2 separate regions of the Homo sapiens genome follow, and region 2 is linked to region 1. The links are contacts of gene promoters, found by promoter capture Hi-C in blood cells and fetal thymus (Javierre and others, 2016). All regions are on one chromosome and are shown on one strand. The core of a region is centred on a gene start or on the middle of the fragment in contact, and the rest is flanking DNA. Distances in the headings are between cores, read along the strand shown.

Region 1 (4,999 bases), core at 879-3,378:
CCAGTCTCCCCTCCAGTCAGAAGGGACCTGAAATTCCACCAGTGGCAATACCAAAGAAACTTCCTATTAGCTAAGCCCCTAGGGAGTGATTGGCTGTTGGGGCGGGGAGGGGGGGCGGTGAGGAGGATGAGGATGAAGCCTGGGCAACCTGGATGTGAGGCTGTGCAGGGGATGAGGACAAGGATCCTTGGGGTGAAGGAAGAGAAGAGCAATTTTAGGTTTTGCTAATTTTGTAACCCTGGCTCCAAGCCAGCCCTTACAGGAAGTCACCCTGGCCTCCGGCTCAATTCAGCACGTGATAGGGAAGCCACATTTATGCAGAGCAGGGAACGAGGTAAGGAAATGGAAGTGGGGCTGTGGTGAAGTGGGCAAGTCTAGAGAGAGTCCCGCTGCCTGGGGCTGTTCCTAACAGCTGCTGGGAGCGAGCTGCAGGTGTGGTGCCTGGCAGGGTGGCCGGGCTGTCTGACTCTGGATTTCACTCCAAGCTAGGCTGCTGCCTGAAGGATTCCTCTTACCCACCTTTGCCTGGGCTGGCCTTTGGGACTTACATGGCTATGAGGCGTGCCACGGTGGTCTTGAACCGGTCAAAGATGTAGCCAGTGGGGAATGTCATGAAGTTGTTCATGAAGGACCCCAGGGTGAAGATGAGTGAGAACCTCTCATCCTGGGCTTTGCAGTCTGGAGTAGAAAAAAGGTCTCCCATGCATCCCAGCCTTCCTGCCAAATGAGCACACAGGCTGGGCTCCCCTCCACCTCAGACAGCTTGTCGGTCGCAAACTTGTCCCTTAAGCTGAGTTGAAATGTGGCTGCCCCTAATTACCCCTCAGGAGCTGGTGCCTCCCTCCCAGGCACTTCCCAGATCAAGTGGGGTGAGAGCTGCTGACCCTTCCTCTCATCATAGAAAGAGGGGTGGGCAGGGGGCAGAGTCCTTCCTGCTCCTTGCCACCACGTGGGAGCCAGACTTAACTTCCTTAGAAAAGTCATCCCTGCCCTTACCAGCCTGCCCTGTGGCATTGCCAATCGGCCCAGCATCTGGTCCACACAGATCCTTAAAGTAATCTTCATTCTTGAAGACAAACACTAGTGAAGGCCAGCCAAAGAGGACGCCAGCAAAGCCCAGGCATTCCAGCAGCCCAGTCAGCAGTGTGGCCACGTGCAGGGGCAGGCCCTGGCCCGCCATGAGCAGAAGTGGAGTGGATCTTCAAATCCCACTTTGTCCTCCTGGACGGATCACAGGCGCCGTAAGCCTGGCGTTTGAGCACTTGGAAAATTCCTCTGGCAAGCCAAGCCCTTCCTTTCCCGTAGCTCTCTGGTTGTTTCAGGCCTGGGCAAAAACCATCAGCGGGTGATTCTCTGGATCCTGTAGAATAAAGATAGAGGCTGCTGGAAGAGGAGGCCTGCGGGAAAGGGAAAGGTAGACTAGAGTTATTTGTGAGGTGCATTAAGAGGCAGGATGATCATGGCCGCTGGCAGCAAATGTGGGGAATAAATACTCCAATACATCATCTTAGGCACTGCATTTGAGTAACCACGTGGCAAGTAGAGAGGCAGGTCTTGATGGCCACCTGGAGTCACAGGTGAGATAAACGACTTACCCAATAGCTCCCCGGGAGCAGGTGGAGAAGCGGAGCTCCTGCGCTCGAATTCTGAATACCGTCCCCTAAAATAATGACAGCAACTCAACCAGGTGCAGAGGCAGGGAGATTTCATACAGAAGACACAAACTCCCGCTGCCAAGTTGGTGTTATCTTCAGTTTACTGACAATGAAACAAAAGCTCCCATGGATTTCAGGAACTTGCCCAAGGTCACAGGGCTAGTTTAGTCACGACGCAGGCCATTCTACTGCCAGAAATACCCCCAACTCCCATGACCCTCGCCTAGGACTCGCAAACCTGGTCCCCGCCGCCCTTCCTCGCATCAACTTCTACCAGGAAAGCCTCCGGGGGCCGCTCCCCGCCAGCCTCCGCACCCCGCTCCAGCCTGCGGCCTGCCCTCCCCGCAGAGGAGCCCGAGGGGCCAGGCCGCGCTCGGCGCCCCATGGCGCCCGAAAGGGGACCCTTCGCCCTACCCGCCTGCTCCGCGCCGGGGCTCTCCGCGCCCTTTCCGCACGGGCCAGGTTCGCATTCGCGCCTCTCGCAGCCCCTCCCAGTCCCCTGCTCGCCTCCGCCCCCTCCTGCCCGCCCGGAAGGGGCTGGGGCAGACCTCCCACTCTCCATCACTTCCTTCTTCTTTTCCCTTGCTCACAGCCTCCCGCGCCCTTTTTACCTCTCCCTCTTGAAACTTCTCCCTCTAGAACCCCCTAGAACCCCAGCGGTGTCTTTCCCTCCCTCCTCGCTGCCTTTCAGCCTCCCAGCCCCCTTGCCTCTGCCTCCCCTAACCAAGTTAGTTGAATGCTGTTACTCGCTCAGGCCCACCTAGGGAAAATGTCACACCCAGCACCCAGAGGACACACAGACAGCACATGAGGGCATAGGGACACACACACTCTATTTGTGCATTTTGCCTTGACCGCTGGGTTGGCAGGGAACATATTTTTCCTATTTGCTCACCAGCTTAACCGTCTCTCCCAGTTTCACACTCCCAGAGCTGCCAAAAAAATCCCAACCACAGAATCAGGAAGCCAAGAACCAGGACTGAGGGCTTTTCAGAAACCATCCCCTGGAGGACTGCCCCATATTTTCACTCCCAAAAACCCCTTAGATGACTCCCTGCCTCACCCCCGCCCCCCAGGTTCTGAAAGAGCCTTCCCGCCAGACTGCATTGATTAACCATTCATTGCCCCATTTTTTATTAATCAAAGACATATATAATTGCTCATCGGAGCTTGTGATCAGCGTGAGGCCTTACTAAGCAGCTGCCTTACTATCCTTCCAGCCCAGAGCACGTGAGCTGACGTCTTCTTTGGCCTGTGTGGCCGTTTCCTTGCCAAAAGCTCAGTTTGGGGAGAGCTTCTTGCGTATTAGATGCAGTCTGCAGACTCCCAACCCCAGCTACCTGGATCCCCTGAGGGCCCAGGAACTCCAGCTATTCCAAGCCCACTCCTCTTTTTTTTAAGAGGAAGAAATAGAGGTTACGATAGGGGACAGCCAGAACTGAGGATTTTCCAGCTCACCACCAAAGCACAAAAGATAAAAGTCTGCAACCACCCTAGTGACTTGACTGAATGGAGGAAGGGTGGCTGGGGTCCTGTACCCCAAGCTACTCACTAGTTATACAACCTGAGGCAAGCTCTTTGGCTGCCCCACCTGTAAGACGAGGACAATAGTACCTTAATTATAGGAATTGTCATAAAAGAAGTATAAGATGGGTGTATGAGGTCCCTGCATGGCGCAGGTGCTATAGGCAGATTGTAGGGTAGTAGATTTTCTAGTCTGCAGTTATGTAGACAGAGCCAGAGAAGCAGCTCTGGGGAGGAATTTCAAAGGAACTTGCCCACGGTCATTCTACAAAGCTGCAGTACCTTCCCAACTCTGAAACGTATGCTCTCATCACCCCGTCTTAACAAACATTTGGACATTAGAGAAAACAAGTCTTTTCTTAAAATAACATTATTTATGGGAGAAAATCCACAAAAATATAGCATCCCAGGACAAACAGGGCTTAAGATGCAAGATTTTCTATTTTACTGCAAGACACAAAGACTCTGAAATTAATGCATGCCCTATCTTCTGCTCTGGCATACATTTTAGTCTCCTGGGGGGATCAGTAAGTGTGGAAGTAGCAAGGGAGAAACAGAAAAAAGTCAAAGTAAAGAGACAGATTTTAGAATGTTAATCTGCAGGAGCCTGCCAGAAAGATCTAGCTCATGGGCTATCTGTACATCCAGGACTGAAGCACGGGACACGGGGCAGGTCGTCCAGGGTTCTGTCCACCTTATCTTGTTACCTCTCTTGACTCTTAGAGCCTCCACTCCACATCTCCCATCAATGTCTGCAGAAGACGTGGCCTCCACTAACACAAGTCTTACTGAACTGATGGGACAGGAAATTAGAATATCCTCTGAACCATTCCCATGTTCTTTGGTTCGAATTCCAGCAGCTAGAAAAGGCAGATGCTATTCTGATCACTCTCCTGCGTGGCTCCAATGAGGATTAATGAGTAACATCAGAGAGAGAAGTGATTATAATAAGGTCTGACGGTGCACCCGATGTCTTCATCCTTTTCTCTTCGCCTCCTTCCTCATCATCTCACACCTTTTTTTTTTTAATTGACTGATTGGTTCAACAAATACATGTGGTACCTCAGGCTCTGTGCCAAGTGCCGGGATTCGTAGAGAAGAGATTCAGTGCCTGCTCTCAAGGGGCTCATTCTCTTGTGGGAGAGACAGACAAAGAAACCCAAGATTTCTGGAGTGTGGGAATGGTCTTCCAGGCAGATGCTAGCACAGCACATTGAAAGGCACGGAACCTCAACAAAACAATAACATTTAGGAACCAGCTAGAGCACAGGGTGGTGAAGAAAGTGGAAAGATTTGAGGCCAGCGTCGCCATCTAAGTGAGGGCATTAAGAATTCAGCCCACATCAATCAATCATGTCCTATTGATTTCACCCCTTAATATCTCTCCTATCTATCCGTGGCCACTGCTCTATGCAGACACTCATCATCTCTCACAGAGGCATCATCTGCTTCCAAGCCATCGCCATTCTCCTGCAAGAGTTTATTTCCATGGTTCCCACTGGATGGCTTCACTTAACTGCTCAAAACCCTTCTGAGGTCCAGTCAACTGGCTGGTAAGGACCAGTCCAGGGTCTGGGGATGCCAGCCATGAGACATTGCTTTGAGGGGAAGAGGGAGCATAGAACTGGATCTCCTGCATCCTACTGCCCAAGTACCAATGCTGGAGGTGGTTTTCCTTCCCATCATCAGCAAGTCTGGATATCCAGGATCCACCCTATGGATGTTTTTATGGACAGAGTGGGAAGATGGATATGTTTAGGTTAGGGAAAGAGGGTTTGCCAAAGAGGGCAGTATAAGTGAGCTGCACTCCATCATTCCCC
Region 2 (4,999 bases), core at 975-3,474, 260 kb after region 1:
GACCTGATCAGCACTGACATTTTTGTAACGATCAGAGGAGGAGGAAGAGCCATGAAGAAGGATTGAGTAAGAAGAGTTAGGAGGAGGAGAAATAGAACAAAGTGGGAACTAAGGAAAATTCATCAAATAGCCGATGGTTGGCAGTATTAGAAATTAGAGAGCTCCAATAGTATGGAAACTCAAATTTCCCATTTTTTTTGGTAACTAATAATTAATTTTTTTTTTTTTTTTTGAGACAGCGTCTCACTCTGTTGCCCAGGCTGGAGTGCAGTGGCGCAATCACGGCTCACTGCAGCCTTGACCCCCCCCTGGCTCAGGTGATCTCCCACCTCAGCCTCCAGAATTGCTGGGACTACAGGCGCGGGCCACCACACACAGCTAATTTTTCTATACCTATTCTTGGTAGAGATGGGGTTTCCATATTGGCCAGGCTGGTATTGAACTCCTGACCTTGTGATTCGCCTGCCTCAGCTTCCCAATGTGCTGGGATTATAGGCGTGAGCCACCGCGCCTGGCCCAAAATTACTCTTTTAAGAAGTAAGCTGGCTGGGCACAGTGGTTCATGCCTGTAATCCCAGCACTTTGGGAGGCTGAGGTGGGCAGATCACCCGAGGTCGGGAGTTTGAGACCAGCCTGACCAACATGGAGAAAACCCATCTCTACTAAAAATACAAAAAATTAGCCGGGTGTGGTGGCACATGCCTGTAATCCCAGCTACTCGGGAGGGTGAGGCAGGAGAATTGCTACGGGAGGAGAGAGTTTTTTAGGATACAGAATTTAGCTTGTTTGTAGCATGCAGAGATGGAACCAGAGGAGAGAAGCTGAGGTTGAAGAAAGGTGATAATTGAAATTGGACTTTTAGAGGAAGGAGATGCTTTCCAGTACATTTCTGAAGGTTATGCTTGCAGAAGAAGTAGGCTCTTTCTGGAATAGGAGGGGAGAGAACCATCATCAGTGGACTAAAAGGTAGAAAGAAAATAAGTTGACAAAGGTTGTCACTGATGACATGTAGTTTTCCTCTCAAATGTGAGGTTATTTTGCAAGAGTGAGACAAGTAGTTTCGGGCTGGCAACTCTGCTGAGATGAAGTTTTTCTGAAATTCACTGTAGGCTTGGCGTGGTGGCTCACATCTTAATCCCAGCACTTTGGGAGGCCAAGGTGGGCAGATCACCTGAGGTCAGGACTTTAAGACCAGCCTGGTCAACATGGTAAAACCCTGTCTTTACTGAAAAATACAAAAATTAGCCCGACATGGTGGTGGGTGCCTGTGATCCCAGCTACTTGGGAGGCTGAGGCAGGAGAATCGCTTGAGTGGGGGAGGCAGAGTTTGCAGTGAGCCGAGATTGTGCCATTGCACTCCAGCCTGGGCAACAGCAAGACTCCGTCTCAAAAAGAAAGAAAAAAAGAACTTCATTGTGCTCCCAAAGCCTACATCATTGTGCTTTGTTTGTGACTTCCCTTCAAAGATTGGGTGAGGGAAAAGAACTTTGTGTCCCTAAAGCCAAGAAAGGCTATTTTAATGAGCCTTTAATGTTCATTCATCAAATATTTATTGATGTATTATGGAAGGCACTATGATGGTCATTTGGGGTTTTTAAGAAGGTCATTGCTGGCCGGGCGTGGTGGCTTACGCCTGTAATCCCAGCACTTTGGGAGGCCAGGGCGGATCACTTGAGGTCAGGAGTTCGAGACCAGCCTGGCCAACATGGCGAAACCCCGTCTCTACTAAAAATATAAAAATTAGCCAGGCATGGTAGTGCACGTGCCTGTAACCCCAGCTCCTTGGAAGGCTGAGACAGGAGAATTGCTTGAACCTGGGAGGTGGAGGTTGTGATGAGCCGAGATTGCCCCATTGCACTCTAGCCTGGGCGATAAGAGCAAAACTCCATCTGAAGAAAAGTAAATAAAAAATAAAAAGGTCATTCCTTTCAAATAGCTCAGACTAGAAAGGAAGATAGGAAGACACCTCTATAAACAAATACACCGTGGGCCGGGTGCCGTGACTCACGCCTGTAATCCCAACTCTTTGGGTGGCCCAGGTGAGTGGATCACCTGAGGTTGGGAGTTCGAGACAAGCCTGACCAACATGGAGAAACCCTGTCTCTACTAAAAATACAAAATTAGCCGGGCGTGGTGGCGCATGCCTGTAATCCCAGCTACTCGGGAGGCTGAGGCAGGAGAATCGCTTGAACCCGGGAGGTGGAGGTTACTGTGAGCTGAGATTGCGCCACTGCACTCCAGCGACAGTGTGAGACTACATCTCAAAACAAACAAACAAAAAACAAATACATTGTGTAAGAGTAATCAAAGAGATCACTTCTGGTAGATGATGATGTAGAAGGATCAGACATTTCAAAATAAGGAGCATTGCAACTGGGCATGCTGGTGCCCACCTGCGGTTCCAGCTACTTGGGAGGCTGAGGTTGGAGGATCAGTTGAGCCCAGGAGTTCAGGGCTGCAGTGAGCTGTGGTCGCAGCACAGCACTCCAGCCTGGGTGATAGAGCAAAACTCTCTTAAAAGAAAAATAGCATTTGAATTTTTTCCCTTTAAAAGAAAAAAATCTTTTTTTTTTTGAGACAGAGTCTCACTCTCTGTTGCCCAGGCTGGAGTGCAGTGGCTCCATCTCGGCTCACTGCAAACTCTGCCTTTCGGGTTCAAGCAATTATTCTACCTCAGCCTCCCGAGTCGCTGGAATTACAGGAGCGTGCCACCGTGCCTGGCTAATTTTTGTATTTTTAGTAGAGATGGGGTCTCACCATGTTGGCCAAGCTACTCTGGAACTCCTGACCTCAAATGATCCACCTGCCTCACCCTCCCAGAGTGCTGGGATTACAGGCATGAGCCACTGTGCCTGACCAAAAGAAAAAATCTTTTATTTAAAGATTTCAATAAGTAGTGCACATTCATTATGTACGAAGTACAAAAAAGGCAAAACATTACCTATAATTTCACAGACCAGAGCTAACTACTGTTATATTGTGGTATATATCCTTGCAATATTTTGAAGACTTAAAAAATATATGTGTATATTTATGTATACCATGTATCTGCAGTATATATTTGTGTGTGTGTGTGTTTTTTTTTTTTTTCCAGACAGTGTCTTACTCTGTCACCAAGGCTGGAGTGCAGTGGCATGATCTTGGCTTACTGCAACCTCTGCCTCCCAGATTCAAGCCATTCTCCTGCCTCAGCCTCCCAAGTAGCTGGGATTACAGGCGTGTGCCACCACCCCTGGTTAATTTTTATATTTTTTGTAGAGATGGGGTTTCGCCATTTTGGCCAGGCTGGTCTTGAACTCCTGGCCTCAAGTCATCTGCCCTCCTTGGCCTCCCAAAGTGCTGGGATTACAGGCATGAGCCACCGTACCCAGCTGTACAGTTCTTTACCTAGCATTTCTTGTGATGTAAATATGAAAAAATGCTATGTAAAGAAATCAGTAAAATTTGAAAACTTAATTTTTAATTCCACACTATCATCTATTTAATTTTTCCTTCCCACATTTTTTTTTTCTAGGTTAATAATAAAAATTGCTCTGGGTGCGGTGGCCCATGCTTGTAATCTTAATACTTTGGGAAGCTGAGGCAGGTGGATTGCCTGAGCTCAGGAGTTTGAGACCAGCCTGGGGAACACGGTAAAACCCCGTCTCTATTAAAAATACAAAAAATTAGCTGCCGAAGTGGCGTGCGCCTGTAATCCCAGCTGTTTGGGAGGCTGAGACAGAAGTATCACTTGAACCCGGCAGGTGGAGGTTGCAGTGAGCCAAGATCACGCCCTTGCACTCCAGCTTGGGTAACAGAGCAAGACTCCGTCTCAAGAAAAAAAAAATTGCTAACTGTATATGAGAAGGCAAATAATGTCTTTTAAGTTTTGAAATGGGATGGTGGGTTTCTGATAGCTGAAAATTGAGAGAAAGGGCATTTATGCTTGTGCAACAAATAATACTGAAATACGTATATGTAGAGAAAATTCATAGAGTAGGGGAAGACATTTTGGGAAAGTTTTTTTTTTTTTTTTTTTTTTTTTTAAGATGAAGATGAAGTCTTGCTGTGTTGCCCAGGCTTGAGTGCAGTGGCGTGATCTCAGCTCACTGCAACCTCCACTTCCCGGGTTCAAGCGATTCTCTTGCCTTAGCCTCCTGAGTAGCTGGGACTACAGGTGCATGCCACCACACCAGGCTAATTTTTGTGTTTTTAGTAGAGACGAGGTTTCACCATGTTGGCCGTGCTGGTTTTGAACTCCTGAGCTCAGGCAATCCGCCCTTCTCGGCCTCCCAAAGTGTTGGGATTACAGGCGTGAGCCACCATGGTTGGCTGGGCAAAGGATTCGTGCCTGGAAAAAAAGGTTGATGTTAGTTCCTCTCTTGGATTGCTATAGTTCACTCATATAAATGTAGATACTGAACTCTTATGCAAACTCATTATGTATGTGCTTTGATATGTAAACTATTTCTTTAAAATATATTCATATACTTAAACCAAATAACACCAGCAGATGCATACAAGAGCTACCTCTTGAGTCATTTTATCTCGAACCTCACTTCCCAATGCAGAATAAATTGCTCCCTCATCCATGTTCCCATAGTGTTGTATAAAGACCTGACCTCACAGTCTTATAGTTCCTAGTTCCTAGTCTCACTCATTAGACTGTGAATTCCTCAAAGGCAGAAGCTATATTTTAAACATCATTGAATCCCTAGCACTTACTACAGTTCTGGCATAGTTGTTTTTAATTGACTTTTCCTCTCTACAGCTGAGGAGGATGAGGACAAGGAAGATGATTTCCGAGCTCCCCTTTACAAAACAGTGGAGATAAAGGGCATCCAGGTGCGCATGAAATGGTGTGCCACCTGCCGCTTTTACCGTCCCCCTCGATGTTCCCACTGCAGTGTCTGTGACAACTGTGTGGAGGTAAGCACCCTGGGTGGGGTAAGACTTCATGCTTAACCTTCATTGTCTTCATCCTAACCATATAATAGATTCTTAGCTTTGGATGTGGTAT

What was found. Contacts are between HindIII fragments. The CHiCAGO score rates a contact against its expected background, and 5 or more counts as called.
Region 2: a fragment that was not itself captured here is called in contact with the fragment with the promoter of SLC43A3 in region 1 in 4 of 17 cell types (monocytes, erythroblasts, activated CD4 T cells and 1 more); the score reaches 9.7 in monocytes.

What each region holds. Positions count from the first base shown.
Region 1 is chr11:57,424,993-57,429,991 of GRCh38, forward strand. It overlaps SLC43A3 (solute carrier family 43 member 3), which reads right to left and starts at 2,129. Exons shown (of 14, transcript NM_199329.3): 1 at 2,070-2,129; 2 at 1,596-1,660; 3 at 997-1,360; 4 at 549-678. The coding sequence starts at 1,180. RefSeq lists enhancers at 61-853, 546-1,745, 854-1,646 and a silencer at 1,889-2,248. The HindIII fragment of the contact is 9,438 bases long and covers 1-4,999 here.
Region 2 is chr11:57,683,758-57,688,756 of GRCh38, forward strand. ZDHHC5 (zDHHC palmitoyltransferase 5) reads left to right here. Exons shown (of 12, transcript NM_015457.3): 4 at 4,751-4,908. Among named protein-coding and RNA genes, the nearest start is that of ZDHHC5, 18 kb to the left of the region's middle. The HindIII fragment of the contact is 5,752 bases long and covers 1-4,999 here.